4 separate regions of the Homo sapiens genome follow, and all the other regions are linked to region 4. The links are contacts of gene promoters, found by promoter capture Hi-C in blood cells and fetal thymus (Javierre and others, 2016). All regions are on one chromosome and are shown on one strand. Each heading gives the region's core, a stretch centred on a gene start or on the middle of the fragment in contact. The rest is flanking DNA. Distances are from core to core; before and after follow the strand shown.

Region 1 (3,112 bases), core at 275-2,774, 610 kb after region 4:
ACCACTGTCTTAATGCAAACATATCACTCACATGTTTCTCCTACTTTCTTCCTATCTGCTTCCTTCTTCTCCCTTTACCTTGTTCACTCCTCACCTTTACTCCATAAATATGTGTGTATATATATATATATGTATATATATATGGGTTTTTTTCTACCTATAGCTTCTGCTTATTTACTTCTACTTCCTACTTCCCTATAACTTCAGCCTTCCCATACTCGACTTCATGGCCTCTTCACTACCTTTCTTCCTCATGGTTTGAGTCTTTTTTTGGGGGGGGTGGGGTGGGGAGGGGATGGAATCTCACTCTGTTGCCTGGGCTGGACTGCAGTGGCACAGTCTCCACTCACTGCAACCTCCACCTCCCAAGTTCAAGCAATTCTCCTGTGTTAGCCTCCGGAGTAGCTAGGACTACAGGCATGTGCCACCACGCCTGGCTAATTTTTTGTATTTTTAGTAGAGACAGGGTTTCACCACGTTAGCCAGGATGGTCTCAATCTCCTGACCTCGTGATCTGCCTGCCTCGGCCTCCCAAAGTGCTGGGCTTACAGGCGTGAGCCACTGCGCCAGGCCGGTTTGAGTCTTCTAGCCTTACTCTTATGTGTCCTTTTAGCTTTCATTCCTACTGCTTCAATCTTTTCATTTCTCAATTCAGAGACCTGGAAACAAGAATCTGATTAGCTCAGGGATTCTGGATGTTGGTAGGTTGGTTGGTTTTTGTTTTGATTTGTTTTTTGTTTGTTTTGGTTTTAGGGTACCAATCCACATCACAGGTCACTACCCAGCCTATGAATTTTGCTTTGTTGGGTCTGATATCCTCCTCTGGTCTCAACTAGGAGTGGGGACACGGTCCTGTTGTACAAAATAGAACTTCTCAGGATATTCCCTTACTCAGGAGACTGTGGTAGGGTCAGTTTCACTTAGAAGGGGCTGTTAGTATGACAATCACTGTAATAGATATATCTAGTACATTCCATAACTTGCCTACTAGAACTCACAGTCTTTTTGGATGCATGCCTGGGCATAACAAAGAATGCTTTTCTTGTAAATGATTCTAGGTTTACAAAAGATTATCACATTTGTCCAGCAAGGGAAGGAAAGGATGCTGCATGAATATTAAAGAGGCATTGTAGATATCACACGTTTCAATCTTCTTGGGCTTGTTCCAGTCTGATAGCCCCATAAAATTACCATGGTGCCAGTCTTTGAGCCTTAACTTTATCCATTAGTACAATTTAACTGGTACCACAATTTGCTCATCAATATGATTAGATTCTGCACCTGAACTGGAGGGTTCACAAAGTGTGCAGGCTGTTGGAAGAAAGCTCTTCCCACACCCAGTTTACATGATAGCTTTGTATTTCCTTCTGCGCATTAAGCAGGGCAATCCTGGCCTGGCATTTATCCCTTTCTCAATGTATGGTCCACCCACTGCCATGAGAAACTACCAGTGAGCTTACCTTCAAAGGGCACAAATTCTGAGACCCAAGAGACCACATGCGGTAAATTCATTAACTCCTTTGTTAGTACATGCCATTGGATATTAGCATTTTATCTTCCACTTGAAGGAGAATCTCTCACTGTCATCCATCTAGGAACTATGGAAACACTAACTCCAAATTCACCACATTTTATTATAAGGGTCTCACTTGGGTAATCCCATGCCCAGCATAAAATTTCTACTAGAATCCTTTGTTTGCACTTTCACTTAACTCATTTATTTAATTTGTTCTTGTTAGATTAGACCCGCTCTTGAGGCTATCATGACCTTTTTTAGATTTTGATTCTTTTTTTTTTTTTTGAGACTGAGTCTCCCTCTGTCGCCCAGGCTGGAGTGCAGTGGTGCGATCTCGGCTCACTGCGAGCTCCGCCTCCCACGTTCACTCCATTTTCCTGCCTCAGCCTCCGGAGTAGCTGGGAGTACAGGCGCCCGCTACCACGCCCGGCTAATTTTTTGTATTTTTAGTAGAGACGGGGTTTCACTGGGTTAGCCAGGATGGTCTCAATCTCCTGACCTCGTGATCCACCTGCCTTGGCCTCCCAAAGTGCTGGGATTACAGGCGTGAGCCACTGCTCCCGGCCAGATTTTGATTCTTAAATATCTCATAATTAAATTTTCTCTACTTCCTCTGCTAATGATTTAGTTCAGGTCTTCAGTATCTCTCACCTTGACTATTTTAGTAACATTATAACTCATCTTTCTGGGTTTTGTCTCTTCCACAACTACTAATGCACCTTTCTTCAACCTCCAAAACAGTCTTCCTAAAATGCAAATTTGATTACATCCTTTTGTCTCCTGCCATTTACTCTATTTGCTTTTTCTTTTTTTTTTTGAGATAGAGTCTCGCCCTGTCGCCCATGCTGGAATGCAGTAGCGCTATCTTGGCTCACTGCAACCTCCACCTCCCAGGTTCAAGCGATTCTCCTCCCTCAGCCTCCTGAGTAGCTGGGACTACAGGCATGCAGCACCACGCATGGCTAATTTTTGTATTTTTAGGAGAGATGGGGTTTCACCATGTTGGCCAAGCTGGTGTCAAACTCCTTATCTCAAGTGATCTGCCCGCCTCAGCCTCCCAAAGTGCTGGGATTACAGGCGTGAGCCACTGCGCCTGGCCCTGCCATTTACTCTCTTACATCTTCCTGAATGCACCTCATTTTCCCATGTCTTCATGCTTTTGCTCTTTCCTCTGATTTGATATTTTCCTGTTCTTTTGTCATGGGTCACTTCCCTACTCACTCCCTTTTTCCCAACAGAAATACTGTATTCTACATTACTTCTGTATTTTGTATATTCTTCTATTACTTTAACATACCTCATTTATTGATCTTTCTCCTATTAGATTCCAAGTTCCTTTAAGACAGAAACTGTCCTGTAATCATCTTTATATTCTGGTTTTTAGCTTACTGTATCCTCAGCAATTGCTTGTTGAATGGAATTTGAATTTCTTTAGTCTATAAAGGAGTTTCAAAGATTTGGCTACTGTGTAGGCCGGGCGCGATGGCTCACGCCTGTAATCCCAGCACTTTGGGAGGCCAAGGCGGGTGGATCACAAGGTCAGAAGATCGAGACCATCCTGGCTAACACGGTGAAACCCCGTCTCTACTAAAAAAT
Region 2 (2,750 bases), core at 164-2,663, 580 kb after region 4:
CTTTCAATTATTCAATAAATGTTGCTAAATTACTTTCTAGAAAAATTGAATCAATTTATTACTCTGTCTCCTTTGTACAAGAGTATGTCTCCCTTACACAAGTACTGAATGCTGCCTGTTTGCTTTTTTGCCATTTTGATGAGTAAAAAATATTATACCTCATTCTTGAATTTTTAATTTATGTTTTTTGGTTACTAGTGAGAACGACTATCTAAAGACGTTTAGATCCTTTATATTGGTTATTTGATGAATTATCACTTGTTTCTTTTTAAAAGTTCTTTATATATTACAGATGCTAGCCTTTGATGTATTTGTTGTAAATATTTTATTTCAGTGCACGTTATCTTTTACTTTTTAGTTTTATCCATTTTTATGAAAATTTTGATGCACTCAAATCTATCAGTATTATCTTTTGTAACTTCTTCCTTTGCTTTATCAGATAAGGATGGCTTTCACATGATGAAAACTTCATTTTAGAAAAGAATGCTTTAAGATATTATATTCTTTTAAATTCCTATTGGCTTTCTTATGGTCAAAAAATGAAATCAACAGAAAGCAAACAGCAAATATATAAGTATCTCATCCTAGATTTTGACCATTTACATACCTGCTTGTGACAATTATCACATCCTCAGAGATGGTAGCCATTTCTTTGATGGTAAGGTAGCACATTCTCCTCAATGTTTGCTGAAAAATCATTTATAAAAGGTAACAGATTATTGATTAGGAAATGGTTTTTTAAATTATTTGAAGTGAGGACCCCAAGTAGATATATATTTTAGAAAGATATTCTTTAAAAGAGTCTCATCTACCAAAAAAAAAAATTAATATCTGGGTGAGAAACTATTCAGAATACTAATATTTCCTAAACACAACTGATGCATTGACACAATAGGTAAAAACTTAAAAATTCAATTATATGGATCTTTCTACTGAGAGATACAAACTTAGACTATGATAGCTTGAGTCCAAAGACAAAGGTTTTTTGTTTTGTCTTGTTTTGTTTTTTTGAGACAGAGTTACGCTCTGTTGCCTAGGCTGGAGTGCAATGGCGCAATCGTGGCTCACCACAACCTCCGCCTCCGGGGTTCAAGCAATTCTCCTGCCGCAGCCTCCTGGGTAGCTGGAATTACAGGCACTCACCACCACACCTGGCTAATTTTTGTATTTTTAGTAGAGACGGCGTACAGTATTAATTAAAGGCTCATTCCTGGAAAATGTGCAAACTCTGCACTTTCCTCAGTTCAGTGTATACCAATGTTTCCTCCTGAACCCTAAATGAGATTTCTAGATGAATACCTGGATCCAAGTAAGTACTAAGCTAACAATGCTCCACCTACTCTCCCCGACTCAACTGGATCTCTGATTTATTCATACACTATGGATAAATGGGCAGCAGCCAGACACCAGGTTCCTCTAGTCTGTCCAGCCTCATCCCTTACTGAGTAACCTCAAATTTCTTTTAAGTAGAGAAACCCAAATACATCAGACGCAGCTCCAGAGTCCAAGCTATGGAGAAAACCTTGATACTACTGAACCCATTAAGGAAAGAAAAGAGAGTGAGGATCCTCGTGGTGATTAAAAACAGAAAAAAAACACACACAGAAAGCCAGTATAGGCACACACATGGGGCAGATCAAAGCTACTATGAGAAGAAAACAAAAAATAAGAATCAAAATTTCAGGAACACCCCACCCCAATTTAAAGAAAAAAAAAGTTCTGTGAGAAGCAGAAGAAAACTAGAGATACGAAAAAAATTTCATTAAAACACAAAAAATGGGGGCTCAACATTATTAGTCATCAGGGAAATGAAAATTACTTATCCAATGAAAAATTAAAACCACGTTTCAGAAACTACCTCACACCCACCAAAATGGTGAAAATTCAAAAGACAAACAACACAAAATGTTGGCCAAAAATGTGCTCTTAACCACTAAAACATACTGCATAAACAAATACACAGAAATGCTGAATAAAATCAGAACAAAAATTTTAAATGTGTAGCCAAGGACAAAATAAAGAGAAATTCACAGATGCTAGAAATGAAGACAACCAAACATTCACAGCCACAGAAGGATCTTACTGGCATGGAATATAGTATCTAACATCTACCAAAATGAGGTTCTAAAAGGTATATTCTTCAAGCACAAGGAAAATCATTCCAGAGTAACTCAGAAATAGAGCAAGGAATGAAGAGTTTTTAAAAAGTGCTAAAGACAGGAGTAAGTCACAATGAGCAAACAAGACTCACAAGAAAATGATGGCATAGAATATATTAATGTAAATGTGCACGTGTGTATGTATATATACACATATGTTGATATACTCATATACGTATAAGGAATCAGAGTATCCTAAGACTCTCGAATTTCCCATGAGTAGGGAAAACACAAAGATGAGTATTTGATTTTGATAAGTCAAAAACCCATTGCAATTTTGAATATAAACAATAAAAAAACTTCCAAAGTATTACCCCACAGGTTGCTGATGCTCTGTTTATTTCTACTCTGTCTTTTTTTCCTCTCTGCTTTATTTTGGACTTCTACTGCTGTCTTCAATGACCCTGGGTTTTTTTGTTTGTTTGTTTGTTTGTCCTACATCTCTAATTTGCTATTAACCCCATGCAGTGTAGTTTTCATTTTATATATTTCTTTTCTTTTTTTTTAATTTTTGGGAAGTGTATTTGGATCTCTTTGTATCTCTCCTATTTTATGCTTTATTCTTGTTATGCCTTTCTTTACAACTTAAGC
Region 3 (2,854 bases), core at 18-2,517, 540 kb after region 4:
AATCTTTCCCAAATATTCCTACAAAGGGTCATCTAGCTTCTATGAAACACCTGAAGGGCAGTATTCAAATGGCAGTAATCATAATTAGTGAGATTCCTACTTCAGAATACGTACTAGTAGCTGCTTAATTTGCCTTTAGTTAATGTTTATCTAGGGAATCGATACACTGCCCCTACAATACAGGTTTAAAGAATGCTGATCCTGAGACAAGCTAATGTGATTCAATGACAATACCTGGACCATAATATTATCACTTGATGCAGCTTCTTGGGCTTCATTGATCCAGCGCTTAACCACATCATAGCTTATCTTCATCATGTGCTAAATACAGAAAAAAAAAAATGAGAATAAATAATGCTTGGTCACTAGAAGCTTAGAAACATGAGTTAGTTTTCTTTGAAAATCACAGACATTTCCCAAGAGGAAGAAAACTATGTAGCTCTTATAAGTCTATTTTGTGTCTTTACTCCTGGAGCAACTGATAAACCAGAAGTATTTTCTCCCATACCTGTTACAAAGGTGAGTATATGTAAGCTGGGAGAGGTGTGTAAAAGGAAGTAATGAAAGAGGAAGAACAGGATAGGGATGGACAGTCAACAGAACGGTGCTTAAATAACGTTATCATAACAAGCTTTACTTCCAGGAAACTCCCCTGGAAGAAAGAGAGTACTAGTATATTCTCTGCTATAAAACTCAGCCAATTATATTCCAGAATCAGGAACTCTTGTATTTAGATGTCTTACACATTCACATATAGGTAACTGACGTTAATCAAATGCAATGTGATAGGTTTTAATGTATAAATTGTGTTCTGCTGAAAAACGGAAAGAAAAATGTATTACTAAAAAAAAGACCACTTCCTGGGAGGAAATTCAGAAGTGGGACAGGAAACTTTGGATTGAAGGATACACGTAGACAAAGGGCACCAGAAAAAGCAGAGGACAAAGAGACAAGTAGTAGAAGTCATAAAGGCAGGTCATAAAGAAGATTTTAAATGAAAGAAAAGGGTCCTAGGTTTCTTTCCTGTCCCATACCCCACACTTACCCCTCTTTTATTATGTGTACAACATAACTTTCAGATTTCCAAAACCTTTCAAACATACGAACATTTTATGTTTTTAATTGCTCAATGATCCTATAGATCAGCAATCTCCAACCTTTTTGGCACCAGGGATTGGTTTTATGGAAGACAATTTTCCCATGGACAGAGGGCAGAGGGATAGTTTTTGGATGAAACTGTTCCACCTCAGATCATTAGGCATTAGATTCTCATATGAGGCCGGCAACCTAGATCCCTGCATGCGCAGCTCACAATAGGGTTCGAGCTCCTATGAGAATCTCACACTGCTGCTGGTCTGGCAGGAGGCGGAGCTCAGGCAGCAATGCTCGCTTGCCTGCCACTCACCACCTGCTGTGCAGCCCAGTTCCTGACAGGTCACAGACCAGTACTGGTCTGAAGCCCTGGGGTGGGGACCCCTGCTCTAGATAAAACACACTTGGATAAAGTAATAGAGGTGTATACATATTTTTAACTGTTTCATTTGTGAGACAATCATAGTGATACTTTGTTTTCGCAACTCAAAACTGTACCATGCTTAAGAACTAGGAAGCTGCTTGTTCACTTACCAGGGAAGATACCAGTGCTGAACTGGATACACTGGAAACTTTATCCACAATGGCCTGCTTCATGTATCTTTCAATGGCTTGCAACATTGTTCCCTAATAACATTCAAAAAGAAAAAATTGTTAAGGAAAAACATGCTTATGCAAAATTACTCTTATGCTTCAAAATAATTTTCAAAAACCAATCTTATATTTGTTTCTGTGCAAATATTCAGAATGCACTAAAAGGATGATAATATAGTAATAATATCCCAAAGGGCAGAACCCAAACAACGAAGTTGAAGCTTTAAGAAAGAACATTTAAGATTATATATAAAGAAGAATAACTGTTCAACAATGAAATAAACTGTCTCAAAATGGAGAATCTCAGTTTGGAAGAAATACACAAGCAGAGGCTGAACCCATCAGGAAAGTCATAAAGAAATTCCTATATGGAGATGGAGCCTGCTTTTGAAGTTATGAAGATTCCTCTATGTGAAGGGCACATATTATATACAGATCCCAGAGAGTCCTAGAAATCAAACGTAATCCCTGATTATCTGAGATACATAAAGAATTAAATGTGTAGTGTACTACTATAGTGAGCCCTCAACATAAAATCCTCTGGAAATACAGTTCTTTTTAACTTTAACTGGGAAAAAGCACTGGGAAGGTGGTGGCAGATAAAGATGAGTAAAAAGACTGAGAGCAATATTCAGATGAAAAAAAGAGTTTTATTGCTAGCACTAGCATGGTCAAGTCTCACGCTGCTACCAATGTAATGCAAAAAATAAAAAACAATCACAACAGAACAACAGTGCACCAAAAAATATTAAAGCATTTCTATTACTCCTTCTAGAATCCAGATTTATCAGATGTATAATTTGGTCCTGCTCAACCTTTACAACTTAAGAAGGTTACAAACATACACCTAAAATATACCCAAGCATGGGTATATAGCTATTATTCAATTTGCTTGGTAATGCCTGGCCTACCCTTCCTACTCAGAGTTCCCAGAAAGAGACAGCCTAACATACTACATGATCTCATCCCTCCAGATATAATGAACTGGATCAATGTTAAACACCTGACTCAGACACAGGTGGATATAAGCTACTGGCCTATTGCTGACTAATCAGATTCTCTCTCTTAAATGTTTCAATAAGAGGGCCTGTGTCTAGTACATGATGGATCACCACAGTGAATAGCCTGGCCAACATGGTGAAACCCTGTTTCTACTAAAAATACAAAA
Region 4 (3,156 bases), core at 177-2,676:
TCATGCCTCTGCACTCCAGTCTCGGCGACAGAGTAAGACTCCGTCTCAAAAAAAAAAAAAAACAGTTAACATATATTAATTTTGGTTTTTATATTTTAGAACCATAGGCTTTTTTTTTTTTCAAGTCTCAAACATTTTCATAAGCAGCGTGCTATGGTGCTAGTGACTAAAACATTTCTGCCTACAGGGACTGGAAGTAGGAAAACAAGGAGGCAGTGCCAGTGGCGACCAGAAATTTGCACACCAGGTACAAAGGGTATTTGTCCTCAGCTCCAGCAGAGTTTCTTTTTTTTCTCTGCAACCATGTAAGGTTCTTCTAATGCAAAAGAAAAAAAAATCTGTCACATCTAAGGACCTTGAAAAGTTTTGTTTCCCTTGAGGAATTTGATATGCTTTTTCCTTATCATTCAGAAACATCAGTGTATAGTATGTTTTCCCAGTCTGCATTGCGCCCAGTAAGTTTCAAGCCAAAATTTCTGTTTAATTTTGGAACAATAGAAACTCCTGATCGGCACATTAAAAATTTTCTTTGATCTTGATCTTCCATACCCGTTGCTGCCTTTTATTTAATTTTACATTTCCTCTTGATTATATATCTTCCAAGCTGATTAAAATTTTCTACTAGCCAAAAGGAGTTTGAGCGAACAAAAATATTTACAGAGCCATCAGCCATCTATGAGAATACCTTTTTCTTGGCATTCCACACACTGCCAGGTGTTATTTGAAAAGTCTTTACTGATGTAATAAACCAGAAATGGTTTCTCATTGGGGTTTTATTTTGTATTTCTAAGATTACAGGTGAGAGTGAACATTTTCCCATATTTGTTAACCAGGTTTAAAACTGTTTGATTGGGACGTGGCTTATACAGGGACAAATGCAGCTAAGCCGACTGAAAGACAAATGAAACCCAGGAATATCTGGTTCTTACATTTTAGCTTTGACTCCGCCCCTGGGTCCCCTCACCTACCCGGACCCCAAGCAAGCCCTTTGTGTGTGTCAACCATCAGTGAATGGGATCTCAATCTGAAAAGCTGGCAGAATACCGTCTTGCCCCCAAATATGTGTATTATGCGTATATCCAGTGTCTGATTGCAATGTTTATGGGAAAAAGTTCCTGAATCCTAACCAAGACTGAGGCACTGGCCGTCCCCGGGAGTCTTTCCGCAGGCGCGGCCTCTGACACTCGGTCTTCGATTGGCCCGCCTGGCCCCGCAGGAGTCGGGGTGACGCCGGCCAGCCCAGAGCGGACGATGAGAGCTAGGAGTGGCTGCTTCTGCCTTTCTCTCCCCCTACTTTTTTTTTTTTAGCCATAGCTATGGTTACCACGTTTCTCTCCGCCTCCCGCCACCTACCAAGAAAACGACTGACCATTGGCTGCCTTTCACCAAGGCGGTAAGTCATTGGTCTCTGGTGGGACCGGGCGCTGCCCCCTTCCCCTGTCTCCTGGGTCTCTGGAGGAGCCCAGGAAGGAGGCTCCGCTGGTTCCGCTGGGTCAGGCGCTGACGGGACCGGGCTGCGGCAATCGTTAGCGGGTCATGTCGGCCGCCCAGGGCTGGGACAGGAACCGCCGGAGGGGAGGAGGCGCCGCCGGCGCTGGTGGCGGAGGTAGCGGGGCCGGCGGGGGCAGTGGGGGCAGCGGGGGTCGGGGGACTGGCCAGCTCAACCGCTTCGTGCAACTCTCCGGGCGGCCGCACCTGCCAGGTGAGTCGTGGGACAGGGTCCTGACCGCTTGCGGGCGGGAAGGTGACTGCTACCTTTTCTTTTTCTCCCTGGCTTGCTTTTCCTTGGGAGGAGGAAAGGCAGGCCCCACGCATAGCAGAGGGACTGGGGATCAGAGAAAAGGGAAGGTGTCTTTGAGGTCAGGGAGGGAACAGGAGCACAGCGAAGAAAAGTATCTGTGCTCTGTTGAAAGCTCTGTGCTGAGAGTTGTGTTTTCTTTTCAAAGGAGAGGCCACTGTCTCATTGACATTTCCAAATGTTTCGGTTACTCGATTCCCAATCTCTTCCCCTTCCGCAGTTTGATCTTGTAAATGAAAGACATTGGCGCCTAGCTGTGGGAAATTATTTCAAAAAGGGTGCCAAGTTAAGGAGAGAAGAAGGAAACGCATTCCAAGGAGTGATTTTGTAAAAACTACACGGGGCGTGTGTGTAAGAGGCATTCTGAAACGGAAGAAAGGGGTGGGGGAGTGTTGGCTGGGGAGTGTATGGGAAAGAGAACCTAGAGGATTAGGGAAAACTAGTTGGATTATTAATATTTTGGAATGTTCAGAGACAGGATAATGGTGTCTAGGTTTTAAGGGGAGAAAGTGAAGATCAAAAATATACTTAGTGACACAATTATGCTGTGTTTACAATATAAAAACAACTGAGAATTGGAAAAATGTACCCAATACAATTATTTGACATTTTGGTCTACAGTGCCCTAGCCTTGAGTTCAGATGCTTTTGAAAACAAAATAAAATCAAGTGGATATGTATGTGTAGACAATTTTAAAGAGGTATGTTTGTAATTGAATATTCAATCTAGTAGAAGGAAGGTAGGGAATTAAATAATGCAGAGAACGTCAAATATCCCACTGGGCAAGCTTATTTTTACTATGAAAAGAACTATCAGGAATGATGTGTTAATTATTCATCGTGTTTTTTGTGAATAATATTGATTATATTAGTGATATATTTGTTTAGCTGATGAGTTTTGAGAACATGATGAATTGGTTTTTATGAATTGTGCTTAAGACTGTACCTTATACTTCTAGTCAAAAATTATTATTTGATTAAATTGAAGATGACAAAGGGAATTTAGCACATTTAATGAGACAATTGCTTATGTTCGTGATGAGGTTGTTGATGTGTGCTAGAAATGTACATTACCCCATTTATATGCATTAAATCGAGGCATTTGTAAGTAGTCATATAATATACCAGAAGTTGGGTTTGAGACGTTAATATCAGACTGGGCATCCTAGAATTGCTAAATATACGATCTTTAACATGAAAAAGAAAAAAGGAGCAATCTTTTTTCTTACTCCCAATTAATAATAAAAACTTAGATTTTTGTGTATTGGCAGCTTAGAAGATGAATCTCTTAGCAAACACTGTCACCAGTTTGCCCTCTACTACCGCAATCTTTAGGTCTTTGATCACGGATTAATTATA

Evidence for each region. Contacts are between HindIII fragments. The CHiCAGO score rates a contact against its expected background, and 5 or more counts as called.
Region 1: a fragment that was not itself captured here is called in contact with the fragment with the promoter of KLHDC10 in region 4 in 12 of 17 cell types (megakaryocytes, naive B cells, total B cells and 9 more); the score reaches 10.1 in megakaryocytes.
Region 2: a contact is called between a fragment that was not itself captured here and the fragment with the promoter of KLHDC10 in region 4, in 1 of 17 cell types (megakaryocytes). The highest score is 6.4, in megakaryocytes.
Region 3: a fragment that was not itself captured here is called in contact with the fragment with the promoter of KLHDC10 in region 4 in 2 of 17 cell types (megakaryocytes and endothelial precursors); the score reaches 6.9 in megakaryocytes.

What each region holds. Positions count from the first base shown.
Region 1 is chr7:130,675,110-130,678,221 of GRCh38, forward strand. All of the region lies in intron 5 of TSGA13 (testis specific 13), which reads right to left. Among named protein-coding and RNA genes, the nearest start is that of COPG2, 7.9 kb to the left of the region's middle. RefSeq lists an enhancer at 1,205-1,761. The HindIII fragment of the contact is 4,053 bases long and covers 1-3,112 here.
Region 2 is chr7:130,652,262-130,655,011 of GRCh38, forward strand. It overlaps COPG2 (coat protein complex I subunit gamma 2), which reads right to left. Exons shown (of 24, transcript NM_012133.6): 5 at 608-687. Among named protein-coding and RNA genes, the nearest start is that of COPG2, 15 kb to the right of the region's middle. The HindIII fragment of the contact is 5,306 bases long and covers 1-2,750 here.
Region 3 is chr7:130,611,918-130,614,771 of GRCh38, forward strand. It overlaps COPG2 (coat protein complex I subunit gamma 2), which reads right to left. Exons shown (of 24, transcript NM_012133.6): 7 at 1,627-1,719; 8 at 235-321. Among named protein-coding and RNA genes, the nearest start is that of COPG2, 55 kb to the right of the region's middle. The HindIII fragment of the contact is 1,276 bases long and covers 630-1,905 here.
Region 4 is chr7:130,069,108-130,072,263 of GRCh38, forward strand. KLHDC10 (kelch domain containing 10) reads left to right here and starts at 1,427. Exons shown (of 10, transcript NM_014997.4): 1 at 1,427-1,702. The coding sequence starts at 1,537. RefSeq lists enhancers at 942-1,141, 1,172-1,361 and a silencer at 1,462-1,631. The HindIII fragment of the contact is 10,740 bases long and covers 1-2,583 here.